Regions from separate parts of the Homo sapiens genome. Here region 1 is linked to region 2. Evidence: promoter capture Hi-C in 16 types of primary human blood cells and fetal thymus (Javierre and others, 2016). All regions are on one chromosome and are shown on one strand. Each heading gives the region's core, a stretch centred on a gene start or on the middle of the fragment in contact. The rest is flanking DNA. Distances are from core to core; before and after follow the strand shown.

Region 1 (3,112 bases), core at 354-2,853, 160 kb before region 2:
CAATTATCATTCTAGAAAAATAGAGAGTGAGATCTAGCTTAAGAATTTTCAGCAGACTCATTAAAATGTTTCCCTTCAATATACTTCTGTGGTTGCTGTACTTAGTTGTATTGGCCATGCAGTTTTAAAAGTCCGTGTTACAGTGCACACAAGCCATGGAGACTGGCAGGAGTAATTCATACTCAGATCAAGGGACTTGATAAACATTGGTGCATTCAGCTCAGGTTCATGGAGCCAACTGTGTTTTTTTGTTTGTTTGTTTTTTATTTTTGAGCGGAGTCTCGCTCTGTCACCCAGGCTGCAGTGCAATGGTGCGATCTCGGCTCACTGCAACCTCCGCCTCCTGGGTTCAAGCGATTCTCCTGCCTCAGCCTTCTGAGTAGCTGGGACTACAGGCACGGGCCAGATACACGCCCGGCTAGTTTTTCTGTTTTTTGAGATGGGGTTTTGCCATGTTGGCCAGGTTGGTCCCAAACTCCTGACCTCAAGTGATCCACCCGCCGCAGCCTCCCAAAGTGTTGGGATTACACGCGTGAGCCACCGTGTACGGCCAAACTGTCACTTCTTACTGTGACTTTTTTTTTTCCTGTGGCTCAGAGTGGGAATGGATATGGTTGGGGGAGCTTATTAATTGTATGTGGAAAACCACTTTTTGAAAACTTTATGTATATATAAATATATACATATTTTAAATTTTGTATGATAAATTTGTGTGTTTTGTGGCGTATCAGTTGGAAATATTACTTTTAGGTTTATCATCAATTAATAGGGACACTTAGGCTGGCCTGCCATCTTTGCTGACACCCCAGTGTTGAAGCAAATATTGCTGGCTTCTCTCTGGGGAGTTTGCTGTAGCATGGGCTGGACAGATGGTAGGTATACTCTGCTTATGCTTATCCTCTGTCAGTCTGGGCAAGGAATCGGATATTCCTTCTGAAGCTGCTTATTCTATGATCACTCAGCAGTTGAACAAGCATCAAAAGGGAATCTGGATTGCTTTCCTGGTCTCTGGATGACAGATATTAACAATGTAATTTATTAGCTGGGCGTGGTGGCGGGAGCCTATAATCTCAGCTACTCCAGAGGCTGAGGCAGGAGAATCACTTGAACCTGGGAGGCGGAGGTTGCAGTGAGCCGAGATCAGGAGATCACGCCACTGCACTCCAGCCTGGGAAACAATGTGAGACTGTCTCTCAAACAAACAAACAATGTAACTTAGTTGTTTGGAGGGAATTCATAGAAAAGGAGATCTGCCAGTGATTTTCATGAAGTTCCTTCCTTTACTACGGCCTCCTTGTGCAAGCTTAAAGTGACTTCTTGCCTGGAGTATTTAAAGCACCTAGTCTATTCCCCCATCTCCTTATTCTCTTAGGTCTGTTTTTTGTGCTTTGACCAGATTCCCAAATATATTTCTGCTACTCCCTTGCTCTGAAAACCTTCATTGGTTCCCTAGAGGAGAACTTGTTGGCCTGGCATTCACATTCAGGGTCTTCAGCAATTAACTCCAGCATAACCTTCCATTCTCATTTGCAGTTGTCACTTGTGAACTCTGCAGTCCAGCCAGGCTCATCTGGTCACTGTGGCTGGAGCGCGTCTTGTCCTTTCTCTCCTTTGGGCCTCTGTTGACCTCCCTCATGACTCTATTGGTATTATTCTCCTTTTTTTGAGTGTTTACCCACTGTCTCTAAATCACCTCCACTCTGGCTCATCACTCACCGTGGCCTTTTCTGACACCTCTCTATATAGAACCATTTGGTGACATTATCTATACTGTCACTGCGGCACTTGGATTATTGCTTTGTAGATTTCCCAGTTTGCACCTAATTTCCCCAAATAGATGGCAAATTCTTAAGAAAAAATGTAATGTTTAAAGTATGTTTTTGTGCCTTTGACAACATTTAAAGAAAGCTTTGAACATAGTTGTTATATGATAACTAGTGAATGAATCAAATCTAAATATAAAAATACAACTTAAGGTCAAGAATAAATGATTTTTGTAACACCTGCTCCTCTGGATTACCCAGAAGTCTTCTGAAGAATATTAAATTTTGACTCTGCAATGTTTTGTATCTAACTGAATGCCTGACAAATAGTAGGTGCTTAATAAATATTTGTCAACTGGAATAAGCATTTGAATAGATGAATTAAGTTACTGTGGTTAGAATAAATGAAGAAAGTCTGGATGTAAGCCATGAAACTCACAACCATTTGGCAGCGATACACACACAGTACATACAGCTTGGGATCTAAGCTCTGAGTGATTTAGGTAGAAGCCTAGCTTTTCAATACAATGGAATTCTTTTTTTTTTTTTTTCCTTTTGAGACAGAGTCTTGCCCCTTTGCCCAGGCTGGAGTGCAGTGGTGCGATCTCGGCTCACTGCACCCTCTGCCTCCCAGGCTAAAGTGATTCTCCTTCCTCAGCCTCCCTTAGTGGCTGGGACTACAGGCATGCACCACCATGCCCAGCCAATTTTTATATGTTTTGTAGAGGGGTTTTGTTTGCCCAGGTTGGTCTCGAACTCCTGGGCTCAAGTGAACCTTGTACCTCGGCCTCCCAAAGTGCTGGGATTATAGCCAGGAGCCACTGTGCCTGACCTCATTTGTTGTATACTTTTATTTAATAGTCAGGACTGTCACAGCGATGCAGTCAGGGGCATGAAGGTATCTCATATTTTTAGGAATAGCGTGTGGAGCAGTTGTTAATAGTCAGGACTGTCACAGCGATGCAGTCAGGGGCATGAAGGTATCTCATATTTTTAGGAATAGCGTGTGGAGCAGTTGCTTTGAATTTTGAGAGTACAGCCGTGTGTCTCAACAGTTTTAGCACATCAGAATCTCCTGGGCTGGATGCAGTGGCTCACACCTATAATCCCAGCACTTTGGGAGGGTAAGGCAGGAGGATATCTTGAGCCCAGGAGTTTGAGACCAGCCTAGGCAACATGGTGAGACCCCATCTGTATTAAAAAAAAAAAAAAAGAATTTCTGGAGAGCTTAGTAAAATTCAGATTGCTGGGCGCCATTCTCGGGGTGTATGATTTTGTCAGTCTGTGGTGGGGCCCAAGAATTTGCATTTCTTTACGTTCCCAGGTAATGCTGATGCTACTGATTCAGG
Region 2 (2,500 bases), core at 1-2,500:
TGCCTGGTCACCGGGGAGGAACTTTACAACATCACTGAAGGTTTGAGAATAGTGCTTCTGGCTGGTCGCGGTAGTTCCTAAGCTGCCTTTGTTCCCACTTCTCTGATCCAGGTTAACTTTTAACATTCTGACAAACTCGGACAAAAGTAACGTTGGGATTACGTCAGGAATTCCCACCCTTCAACAAATATTTGTTGCGGGCCTACTATGTACTCAGTGCAATGATACCCAATTTTGTAGTCTCCTAAACAGATCCTACTCGAGAGGTCTTGATTATTTACAGATGCAGTTAGAAAAGCGCCCATATTATTTTTAATTGAGTTCAAGAAATAGAATGCAGCGTTGAATTAGAAGACTAATTCCTTCTTTTAATATGTTGAAAATTTTTTATCGTTAAACATTTTGTAAAGGATTTTTTGAGGGAGTCGTTAGAAAGTCTATAAATACAACTACGCACACTAAAAAGTAGTCATCTTTTTAAAAATAACTTTGTTTAAATGCATGCTTAGTGTGAATGGATTTACCTAATTCTCTTAATAGCATGCATTTCTGATCTTCCCTACATTAACTGTAATAGCAACTGATATAACAGAAAAATGTAAGTGACTTGTAGTCGACTTGGCCACCTGCCACACGGGCTCGGTGAAGGTTAATGAGGAGCTATTTGGCACTTCGAGAATAGGTGGCACTAGACACAGAAATATCAACAGGCTATTTGTATGCTAACTAGGAGTTTCGGTGCCAGGTAACCATTGATGTACTCTTGCAGGAGAAAGAAGGATGTCGCTGTACGCCCCGAAAGAGAGGCATCATTTTTACGCCCAGTTTGGATTAATGATTGATTGAGTCGCAGAAATGCTTGTGATGCTGATAGAGGCCAATACTGGTCTTTCTGATCTCTTCCTCGTCGTTTATTACCTTCTCTTGTGGACAACGCATTCCTAAGAATGTATCTCTGCTTGTTTCCCAGTCCGCGAGATAAATGGTGACTTCTCTCTTGCAGGCACCGTCATACCTCGGGTTTAGATTCTGGACAGGCGAGCCGGCTGCACCGAAGGCCCGGTAGGCGGACTCTGGCGGAGCGCTTCAGAGAGAAGAGTGTAGACCGCGGGAGGCGGAGGGCTCCCTGCCAGCGTGCCTCGGCCAATCAGTATTCACACCGCCTGACAACCGGCCAATCAGAGGACGTAAAGCTCCGGGGCCTGAGCGGACAGTACTAGGAAGGGGAGCGCAGTCTGCAGACTGAAGCCAGTGGCGCTGCGCTGAATGCAACTGCGCGCGCCCGCCGGGTGAGCCAGCGATCTGAGCCAGGCGGGGGCGGCCCGACCTTTCCCGCCCAGCCTGGGTCAGAGGAAGCCGAAAGCGGCCTCAGCAAGGTGAGGCGCCCGAGGCTGCAGAAGACCGAGCAGAACTTTGCAGAGTTCGGGATGTGCTGGGCTAGGTCGCTGAGGACTTGACTGGCTTCCTCCCTCCTTCCCTCCACCTACCTTCTCCCTCCCCCTCCACCATCCAGTGGGTTCGTTCCGGGCCTCCAGCTATCAGCTCCCGATCTCGTGTTTGAGGGTAGCGACCCCGATTTCTGTTTGCATGCACAGCCAGCAGCCCTAGCGCCAGATCCTAAAGCTGGATATCTTTTAACTGGGCTACCAGCCCGGGCCTCAAAGTTTTGGTGAGTGCTGTGATGCCGCTCGGGGTGTCAGGGAGGGCAAAGGGCGTGAATCATCTTTCACCTTTTCTGTGTGACTTGGATGCCTTACCTTAAATATATAAACCAAGGCCTAAGTACAGAGAGCCCACGCGGCTCAGCCCTGTGCACCTCAGGTACTATTAAGGCTGGACGGGCGTCTGTATTGTGCTCTTTGCCCTTATGGGACGCTAATGACAACAAAATTTTGGTTTTCAGTTGAGTATTTTGGGGAGGGGGGTGAGAGGACCTCTTCAAGCCCAAGGAGGGGTCCTTGTGGTGGTGTAGGCTGATGAGAGGCATTTGGGAAGCATAGAGTGGTACTTCAGTGAGTCTGAAGGGCCACTTGTAATCAAAGGAAAACTGTTCTTCCACGGATAGTTTTATATGCATCATGGCCATACTAGTTGAGTATGGGGAAATCCGACAAGTGGCCTGGGGCTGCCTATTTGGACACAATATTTTGTGTGTGTGTGATAAGTGAGTTACCCAGGGACTTGTCCGGAAAGCCCGTGTAAAGCCAGAGAGGGCCACGGTTAAAGGTCAGGTACTCACAGAGCACTTAGAATTAATAAAATAAAACCTTTGTTGGGTTGTGGATCCCTGGGGGCCCTGGAGATACAGGAAAGGCACGTGTGGCCTGGAAGTGAGGGACATGTAATGAGAACAGGATGACTCAAGCGGCCGGAGGCGGGCAGACCAGGAGCTTTGGGCCGGAGGCTCAGGGATGGTCCCTGACGGCGGCCGGTGGGTCTTTGGATTTCTTTGTGTTTCCCCAGAGTGAGGGCCGCCAGGCTCAGGCCCCAGCGAAGCCCC

What was found. The method cuts DNA at HindIII sites, captures the fragments that hold promoters and counts their contacts. A CHiCAGO score of 5 or more calls a contact.
Region 1: a contact is called between a fragment that was not itself captured here and the fragment with the promoter of DMRT2 in region 2, in 1 of 17 cell types (monocytes). The highest score is 6.1, in monocytes.

Annotation. Positions count from the first base shown.
Region 1 is chr9:886,004-889,115 of GRCh38, forward strand. All of the region lies in intron 2 of DMRT1 (doublesex and mab-3 related transcription factor 1), which reads left to right. Among named protein-coding and RNA genes, the nearest start is that of DMRT1, 46 kb to the left of the region's middle. The HindIII fragment of the contact is 605 bases long and covers 1,302-1,906 here.
Region 2 is chr9:1,049,107-1,051,606 of GRCh38, forward strand. It overlaps DMRT2 (doublesex and mab-3 related transcription factor 2), which reads left to right and starts at 1,251. Exons shown (of 4, transcript NM_181872.6): 1 at 1,251-1,669; 2 at 2,464-2,500. RefSeq lists an enhancer at 1,023-1,892. The HindIII fragment of the contact is 13,820 bases long and covers 1-2,500 here.